Regions from separate parts of the Homo sapiens genome. Here regions 1 and 3 are each linked to region 2. The links are contacts of gene promoters, found by promoter capture Hi-C in blood cells and fetal thymus (Javierre and others, 2016). All regions are on one chromosome and are shown on one strand. The core of a region is centred on a gene start or on the middle of the fragment in contact, and the rest is flanking DNA. Distances in the headings are between cores, read along the strand shown.

Evidence for each region. Contacts are between HindIII fragments. The CHiCAGO score rates a contact against its expected background, and 5 or more counts as called.
Region 1: a contact is called between the fragment with the promoter of IFNLR1 here and the fragment with the promoter of NIPAL3 in region 2, in 7 of 17 cell types (total B cells, naive B cells, M2 macrophages and 4 more). The highest score is 13.5, in total B cells.
Region 3: a contact is called between a fragment that was not itself captured here and the fragment with the promoter of NIPAL3 in region 2, in 1 of 17 cell types (naive CD4 T cells). The highest score is 5.1, in naive CD4 T cells.

What each region holds. Positions count from the first base shown.
Region 1 is chr1:24,185,387-24,188,611 of GRCh38, forward strand. IFNLR1 (interferon lambda receptor 1) reads right to left here and starts at 1,903. Exons shown (of 7, transcript NM_170743.4): 1 at 1,805-1,903. The coding sequence starts at 1,862. RefSeq lists a silencer at 1,676-2,165. The HindIII fragment of the contact is 11,665 bases long and covers 1-3,225 here.
Region 2 is chr1:24,414,496-24,417,574 of GRCh38, forward strand. It overlaps NIPAL3 (NIPA like domain containing 3), which reads left to right and starts at 1,307. Exons shown (of 12, transcript NM_020448.5): 1 at 1,307-1,409. It also overlaps a transcript of STPG1 not described here. The HindIII fragment of the contact is 730 bases long and covers 1,146-1,875 here.
Region 3 is chr1:24,658,996-24,662,247 of GRCh38, forward strand. It overlaps SRRM1 (serine and arginine repetitive matrix 1), which reads left to right. Exons shown (of 17, transcript NM_005839.4): 10 at 1,724-1,804; 11 at 2,315-2,401. Among named protein-coding and RNA genes, the nearest start is that of SRRM1, 17 kb to the left of the region's middle. The HindIII fragment of the contact is 543 bases long and covers 1,152-1,694 here.

The DNA.
Region 1 (3,225 bases), core at 653-3,152, 230 kb before region 2:
GAAGAACACAACTTCATTCCTGCCCTATAGGAGCTCATGGTCCCATGGAGAATTCAGGGTCCTGAAGTGTCCCATGTGCCATGATGGAAATCCATACGGGTTGCAAAATGGCATCAGGGAGGGAGGGTCCAGTTCTGTGGATGGCTGTCCCCAGCCTCGGCTGCCTACCCATCACCTTCTAGACCCAAAAGTGGGTGCCTGCTTCCACCTCATCCTGTGTCCTCTAGCTGGGACTGTATCACCACGAGGCTAGTGCTATTACTACTCCCAGCTTCTGGACTTCCTAACGGGTGACCAGCAGGAGACCAGGCTGTCTGCAAGCCACTTGTAAGGTATCCTATGGGCAGGACAGTCCCCAGATTCGAGCTAGGTCACATGAGAAAAACAGCAGTTAGAGCAACTTTCCTCTATGAAGCCTTCAAAGGATGCCAGGCACTAGTTTGGCTCTTTACATGTAAAACCTCAATCACCCTTGGGACAGACCACCCTATGGGGTAGGTGTCATTCATTCTGCTTCCATGGAAAGGGCGCTAGGCTCAGAGACAGATGCTAACTAACTTGCCTGAGGCTACACAGTCAGTTTGTGTGGGAGCCAGTATTTGAACTTAGATCTGGCTGTACTTACTCCTAAATCATCACACCATAGTTAGTGTTGTGTATATTAAATACTTATCAGGTGAAAGTACAAGAAGGTCTGGGTTTGACAGTGAAAGGGGAACAGAAGACCCCACCCTCCCTCCACACACAGGTACACGGTCCCTCATCAGCCACAGAGAACGCTGCTGTGGGCACTGGGGGCTGGAGCATCCCTGGCTGGCCTAGTGACCCAGTGGATGGACAGCCTGTCCCACGTGCCTACCCTGGAGGCAAAAGCTAGCCAGGCTTGCTTTAGCCCCTCTTCTCTCTTCTGTGTGCCTCACCTCTGCCATCCTTCTTGAGGAATTCCCTGAATTGCTCTGAGCCTCAGTTTTCCCATCGGAAAAGTAAAAATAATATCTACCTCCGAGGATGGCTGGGTCGTGAGGCTTCCAGAATAATGCGGTGCCTGGCACAAAGAAGTTGCTGAATAAATATAGGCTTTTATGATGATTGGATTATGCCCAGGGACCTTTACAGCTCTTTAAACTGTGAGTCCAAGACTAGGAAAATATCCTGGGGGCGATTTCTGGACCTTCTCTTCCCTGCTTCGGTTGGAGTCGTGGGCGGTGAGGTTTGGTGGTTGGGTCCTACGGCGAGGAATTTTGTACCTGACACCTTACTCATCAGTAGAGGTGGGAAAACAACAACAACAACAACAACAACAAAACAACAACAAAACAACAACCACCACCAAAAGAAAGCCGTCTTGTTAGAAAGCAGGGCACAGGCGACCAGAGCTCCGTCCCACCAGAGGCCTGGCAGGAACGGGAAGGGACATCAATCGGTCCCACTTTCCCTGCTGTCCACACTTTAGGGTCAAGTGTGGTTTTCACGCAGGGATCAGTGCTTTCTTTAGGAAACATTAAAAAGCACTTTATTAAAAAATATGCAGTATCAAACTGCCGCTGTCTTTTTTCTCCAGTTCTCCTGAAGCTGGAAGCATTAGGAAACTGGATTCGTTTCCTGCGGGAGAGGAATATCAAAGACCCGGTTCTGTTCAGTCCTGGGAAGAAGCAAACTGGGGGCGCGTAGGCAGGGCCGATTCGCACCCGGCTCGGGTGGCTGCGGACCCCGTGCCTGTCCCAGGAGCTCCGGGTCCGAGGGTAGGCGCGGCCCGGCCCGGGGAGCCCTCTTCCCCCTCCCTCCCGCGGCCCCGCGCCCTTACCTGGAGCGGCCTGCAGCAGGCACAGGAGCAGGGGGCCCCAGCGCTCGGGCCCCGCCATGGCCTTCCTGCCGCGGCGTCCCCGCCCGGGCCCAGGTCCCCGCCTCCCGCCTCCCGCCTCCCGTCTCCTAGCCCACCGCGGGCAGGTGACGCAGTCGGCAGCCAATGGCCCGCAGAGCCGCGGGCCCGTCCCTGCCGCCTAGGATTCACTGAGAAGGTCCCTGGGGACAGCCCCGCCGCGGGGGGAGGGGGGGGGGGGAGCGCGCCGGTCCCCGCGCTCGAAACTCGCCCGTACCTCTGCTTCATCTGCACTTAGTTTTGTTTTACTCAATTCCCGGAAAAAAAAATCAGTAAATCCGTGCACGGGGGAAGGGCAGGGGAGGGGAAGAAACCGGCTGATGATCAATAACCCACGGCCAGTCCAGTGCTCCAGGACGGGCCATTTTGGCAGGATTAGGGAGAGTTCAAGGCCGGTTTGGCTACGCGGCCTCAATGCCATTGGCGGGATCCGAGCGCGTTTCTGAGCCGGATGCTGAGCTCCGCGCCTTACACACGCGATTCCCTTTAATGCCCCCGGGGATCCCGGCGGATCCGTGCTGCCCTTCTCCACGTACTTCTCTCCCGGGGAGCGGCAGGCCCCAGAGCTTCAGGTGCTTGTTCTGGGGAAAGCTGTCTTTCTGACCCCGAAGGCTGTGGTGTTCACCTGGACAGCAGTAGCTTCCCAGTAAGGCACACGCCACGACGCGCAATATTATGCGGCCCTTTAGGAGGACGTTGCCGAATGGTGTGTATCGACACCGAGGTGTTTGCAACACACTGAGAAACAGAAAAGCGAGTGCTAAAACATAGGCCCATTAAAAAAGTGTGTGTGTAGCCGGGCGCGGTGGCTCACGCCTGTAATCCCAGCACTTTGGGAGGGTGAGGCGGGTGGATCGCCTGAGGTCAGGAGTTGGAGACAAGCCTGGCCAACATGGTGAAACCCCGTCTCTACTAAAAATACAGAAAATCAGCCGGGCGTGGTGGCATTCACCTGTAATCCCAGCTATCAGGGAGGCTGAGGCAGGAGAATCGCTTGAACCCAGGAGGCGGAGGTTGCAGTGAGCCGAGATCGCGCCACTGCACTCCAGCCTGGGCGACAGAGTGAAACTCAGTTTCAAAAAAAAAAAAAAAAGTGTGTGTGTGTGTGTGTGTGTGTGTGTGTGAGTCTGTCTGTATGCATAGAAAGATATTTGGAATAATAATTACCAAAATATTAATGGTTGTTGTCTTTGGGTGATGAGGATTTTCTTTTTCAACTTTCTTCTTTTCTGATCATATTTCGTTTCCAATTTTTTGATAATTATTTGAAACTGGGATCAGCTTTGGTCCCATCAGTTTTTGGAAGAGAAAATGATTTTCACAGAGCTTGGTGGGTCCAAAAGTTG
Region 2 (3,079 bases), core at 57-2,556:
AATGGCTCGCCTTTAAATTTAGGGTGAAATCCAAGCTTTTTTTTTTTTTTTTTTTTTTTTGACAGGGTCTTGCTCTGTCGCCCAGCTGGAGTGCAGTGGCGCGATCTCGACTCGCTGCAACCTCCGCCTCCCGAGTTCAAGCGATCCTCCCGCCTCAGCCTCCTGAGTAGCTGGGACCACGGGCGCTCGCCACCACGCCCGGCTAATTTTTAAATTTTTTTGTAGAGATGGGGTCCCACTATATTGTCCAGGCTGGTCTCAAACTCCTGGGCTTAAGTGATCCTCCTGGCCTCCCAAAGTCCTGAGATTACAGGTGTGAGCCACCGCGCCGGCCCCCAAATATGTTATTTATAAACTGTCCCTGGCCCGTCCCTCAGATCGCAGGCCCAACCACGCCCCCAGAAAAATCTCTCACCAGCCCTGCTGGCCTTCGGGCAGTTTCTACAATGCACCAACTCGTTCCTCTCCCATGTTCCCAAGGAGCTTTCTCTGCCCCACGATCTGAGACTAGAACTGCCTCTTTCTCATTGTTGATGTCTAGGCCCAAATGACATTTCTTCATACGTAAAACGGGCTTCAAGTCTCACTCATGGCTGTGACGATCTGAAAGCAAATGCGTGTATATGACAACGTGTGAGCGATGAGAAGCTTGTCATCTGTAAAACTCCATGCGCATGTTAATTATCATGGCCGTGATAATTATGTACATTATAGAAACATTAACCAAGCGCTGGGCTCGTTTCAGGACCTTCAGTATTGCTGGGAGGCTTGGTATCCGACAGGTGTTCCAGGAGGGCAGGAAAGGAGAGATATGTTTGGTCCCAAGTCTCGCGAGGGCTCTGGGGAGCGCTGGGTCTTCAAGGACGTTTTGGATTTGAATACTTGGTGAGAGCGTCGGGTAGGGGAACAGCAGGAGCAAAGCCCGGAAGGTGGCTATGAGGATAAGAAGGGAGGACACCTGGCAGGCTGCTAAAACCAGGCCCACCTGCCGGGCAGGTGGAGGCGAGCAACCACCTAAGCTCTCTGGGACAGCGGGAGAGGGGGCAGGGGAGTCGCCGCACCATTCTTCCTGTGGCCGCTAGGGGGTCCCCGCTCCAGGTGAGCGCCAAGCTCTAGCCCCAGGTCGCTCCCTTATGCTTCAAGCAAGCTTTGCAGCGCAGCCAATTGCCAGGGGCTGTCCCGCCTACTCCCCGTCCTCGCAGCCACTTGCCTGCGCGAAATGCCTGCCAACTTCTGACTGGCAGGCAGTCTGGCAAATCAAATCGCGACCTTTGAAAGCAAAACACTGCAGCATCTTGGCAGCTCTGAATTGGGAAGGGATGAAGGAGGCTGTGCCTCCGGGTTGCACGAAGAGTCCGAGTCATTTCTCAGAAGGTTTTGATAGGTGGGCCTTAGAGGAGACGCCGCCGGTGAGTAGTGATTAACACCGGGAGGAAGGGGAATTGAATTTAACCTTCGTTTTTTTCTGGAAAAAGCGAAGTCACCTAACGTCCCCTAGTGTACATACCCTTCCTTCTTACTGTCACCAGCCTCGCCAACCTGGGTCCCGTTGCCTTGGAATGTTCTTTCCAGTTTTGCATCGAGGCCAAGAGGAGCGGGGGCATGGGCTACCTTACTAAAGGTGATGCCAGGCTCTACCAAACCAGGAAGTGACATGGAGTTAACTTTGCCAGAATTTCTCCTCTTCGTGCCGAGCGGCTCGGGCTTCCTGGCGGCAGCAGATGGTGGAGTTAGCAGGTGGGATGAGGGGAGGCGTTCTTGGTCTAAGCCCGCTTCTGGAACAGAGGTGCTGTCTCCTCGAGTTGTAAGTTTCCAGCTCAGTGGGACGGGACGGAAGAATGTAACCTTCTCGTGAGCCAAAGCCGAGGAACGGGAAGCTTGGCAGGGAACTGGCGCTCACCTCCAGAAGCCAGATCGTCGGGTGGTGGGAAAGAGCGTGTTTTATTGATTTGTTCAGAAAGAGGCAAATTCGAATACAGACGCTATGAGCCACGGCTGTCTCATTTGTAAAACGTGCTCTGTGGGATTGGTGAAATCCGTCATCGAGATAAACGGGGTGGGAATGGAAGCAGAGCACCTAGTGAATTCTCATTCCTTCCTTGGGTCAGTGACCACGTGCTCTAATTGTGGGGTGGTTGACAACGCAGAGGTGACTGCTTGCCTCTCGGGCATATGTAGGTCCTGAAGAAATGCTTCGAAATCAGGAAAAGAGAGTCACCAGGTGAAAAGTATGTGTCTTATAAGGGAGTACAGCTTGCAAAGGGTTCCTCCAGGCTTTCAGTCCGGACTCCCACCCAGCTGAGGGAGAGCCTTCAATCTTTGCAGGCGATGCTTCAGAGGCCTGCGAGTTCCTGAGGCAGAGAGGGAAGCTGCTTTTTAAAAGAAAAATTAAACCACAGCAATGCCAACCACCACAAACAAAAGCAAAACCAGAAAAGCACTTGGGCAAACTACTCTGAAGGATGTTAGGAGGCCTGGGTTCCCACCACTCCCTTGATTGACATGTCGCTAAGGTCTGTTGGCTTTCTCTGACCTCCTGTGGGTGGGGCTGAGTATATCTGCTTGTTGAAGCTCTGGAGTTGTGGTTGATTAGGCCTTAGAAAGGCATTCTTGACTGCGAAGGGGCCACAGTGCACCCAGTGCTTAACCAGCCTGCATTTAGTCAGTCGGTTGGTATGTATACAAGTCACTGTCAGGCTCTGGGCTAGATCTCATTTAGTCAGTTGGTTGGTATGTATAGAAGTCACTGTCAGGCTCTGGGCTAGATCTCAGCTGGGAGCAACTGAACAGGGTATTCCGCAAACACCTCACTGGAGTTTGCGCTCCTCAACTCCATGACTGCTTCATGGTTGAATGCTTCCCGGGGCCTCTCAGAGGTAGAAAGAACCCTGAGCCACTCTTAAGGCTCTTATGATTATTACAAATGCTAAAACATTTTTACAGAAATGTAACACAATAATGCTTTTCACATGTACGTGAAAGTATAGTGAACAATTATGCTTTCCACAAGATTGCAAACACATATTCATAGGGTTTTACAGGCAGGGAAGTCTAGCTATGGGATGTGAATTACCTGATA
Region 3 (3,252 bases), core at 173-2,672, 240 kb after region 2:
CCCGCGTGACCAACATGGAGAAACCCTGTCTCTACTAAAAATACAAAATTAGCCGGGCGTGGTTGGCGCATGCCTGTAATCCCAGCTACTCAGGTGGCTGAGGCAGGAGAATCCCTTGAACCCGGGAGGCGGAGGTTGCAGTGAGCCGAGATCATGCCATTGCACTCCAGCCTAGGCAACAAGAGCGAAACTCTGTCTCAAAAAAAAAAAAAGAGAGAGAAAGGGAAAAGTCTGTTCATTGAAAAGGCATACTGGTAAATTCTTCATTTTGACTTCTTTAGCAAAGATGCGATTACTGTGTTAGATCACTGGTTCTCTAATTACTGCCCCTTGGAATAAACCATTACAGAATTCTGAATGTGAGTGTCTGTTAAATGAGATGTATCTGTATTCTGAGTCAAACATTCCATGGCAATTGCTTTAATCACACAAAACAGGTATCAGGATCCTGAGAGGATCAAATTGTCTGTAGGTTTATTTCTTATTGGGATGTTCTCAAGTGGTGTTTTAGGTTAATTTATGGTATATATATGTTTATATGTGAATATACTTATGATTTTAGTTGTAGCAATGGATAGATACTATAAGCAGAGTTAGTTGTTGAGATTAAAACCCATGGCCTAAAAATAGATTCTTGGATTCACATCTTAGCTCACTTAAATTGTCTTTGTGACTGAGGTGAAGTTGCTTCTTTTTAAGCCTCAGGTTTCCTCTCTTGTGAAATGGAACAGGGAGAAAGGGATGTGATACTACTGTGTTAATAGTGTGTCTAATACAGCAGGCTTACAAAAGGTAGTTACCATATTTCTATGTTATTGGTAAAAGACAATTGGATAATTCATAGGATACCCACTGCTCTCCTACTACTTGAGGTATAGAAATGCCTTTTTTTCTTTCTAGCTCTTTGGAAAGAATCCTCGTCTTTGTATTTAATCATTTTTACTATTTGTGGCGGTCTGCTTTTTTTCATGGGTAGTTTAAATCCCCTGTGCTATTGTGAAGATTATGCTCTACATAAAGAACCTTTAACCTGTTGGGCAGTCATTCTTCTTTTCTAGACCAAATATCTTTGTGAAAGTTTCATGAGATCTTATTTCTTAATCATTTATCATCTTTTACTTTTCTGAACCCACCTATTGTGGTTGCTTAAAAGCTTTCATGTTGATGAAGTCTCTGAAGTTGAGTGTGAGGGAGTGAGTGTGGGTGTGGAGGGTGTGTATTTTAGATTGTGGAGCTCGTGTAGCACACAGAGGTTTACTTTACTGAGCTTGTTCTACTCAGTAGCAGCTCCCAATTTCCTTTAACTGTTGGTTTTCTTGGGAGAATCTCAAGATTTGAAAATCATTGTAGAACTTTTTGAGGCTTTTCATTAAACATTTAAAAATTCTTGTCTCACTTCAGATAATGTTCAGATATGACAACAAGGTCTTACAGGAATTTTTTAAGTCTTCATAAATTCTTTTTGAGAGTAGTCACACCCATTTTTGTAATAGCAGGAAGGCATCTTGGCTGGGCACAGTGGCTTGTGCCTGTAATCCCAACACTTTGGGAGGCTCAGGCAGGAGGATTGCTTGAGGTCAGGAGTTCAAGACTAGCCTGACTAATATAGTGAGACCCCATCTTTATTTAAAAATAATAATAAATTTTTAAAAATTAAAAGAAAAGCATCTTGTATAGACCTTTTTTTGTACGTAAGCTTTTTTCCACTCTTATTCTTTTTTAGTGACAAAACATAAAGGTACTGAGAAAAGAGAATCCCCTTCACCAGCACCGAAGCCTAGAAAAGTAGAGTTATCTGAATCGGGTAAGTTTGTTGTTTTTTTTTGTGATTTTGGTTTGTTTGTTTTTGTTTTTCTTAAAGCTGATTTTGATTTTTTGCACATTTGGTCATCCCCTTCTGCTTGAAGATTAAGTATAGGGTAAGAGCTAAGACTCTGAAGGCAGACAGACTTGGGTGGAATCCCCCATTCCAGAATTTAACTGTTTCTGTTTTAATTAACTTATCTGAGCCTTTCTTCTTTCATCTCCGAAATAGGGACAGTAGAGGTTTTTGACAGTTAACTGTATCTGCTTGTAAAATGCTTGGCACCAGCCTGACCTGTAGTAAATGCCTAAATAAATTTTATTATATTTGGTGAAGATAGTCTAAATCAGCCTGTGAATTGGCATTTTAAACTCTTTTTAAAAAAAATATATAGTAGTTGTATTTTTGATCCAACCAAATGAAGGTTTGAGAGACTATTTTCCTATTCAAATTGCAAATTTTCTATATGCTTAACTAAAGAAACACTTTCTAAATGCATCCATCTTTCAGAAGAAGATAAAGGTGGCAAAATGGCTGCAGCAGATTCTGTGCAGCAGAGACGCCAATACAGACGACAAAACCAGCAGTCTTCATCTGGTATGGATGGTGATGAAAGTTTTTTTTCTACCTGTATTTCCTATTAAAAAATACTTGGTATATAAACATCTGTGTGTGCAGCATGAGTACTTACTTGCCTACATAGAAATCTGTCTGAGGAGGCAGGATTGTTTCTTTTTTTGGTTTTAAGTCCTTTTGCAAAATTTAATTTTCTGTTACATTGTTATAAAAGTAATAGGTCCCTAGGATACAATAGTGAAACAGAAAACAGAAGTATAAAATTGGAAACGTATCATTCTTTTTCCAACCTCCTAAAGCTTTTATTCAGAAATTTTCTGTGCATATAGAAAAAGGAAAAGAAAAAACCCCACAGAAGCTCAACTGTAGATATGTTGCCTCACTTTTTAACTTAACAGTATATTTAGAACATCTTTCCCTATTAAAAATCTAGACTGGGCGCAGTGGCTCACACCTGTAGTCCCAGCACTTTGGGAGGCCGAGGTGAGCAGGCCGAGATCAGGAGTTCAAGACCATCCTGGCCAATAGGGCGAAACCCCATCTCTACGAAAAATACAAAAATTAACCGGGCATAGTGGCGCACACCTGTAATCCCAGTTACTTGGGAGGCCCAGGCAGGAGAATCCCTTGAACCCAGGAGGCAGAGGTTGCAGTGAGTGAGCTGAGATCGCGCCACTGCACTCCAGCCTGGGAGCCTGGGCAACAGAGCAAGGCTTTGTTTCCACAAAAAAAATAATAATAATCTACCCTATTATTTTACTATTTGCATTTTTTATTGTAAGAATATACCAGGCTGGGTATGGTGGCTTAACCTGTAACCCCAACACTTTGGGAGGCTGAGGTAGATGGATCACTTGAGGTCAGGAGTTCGA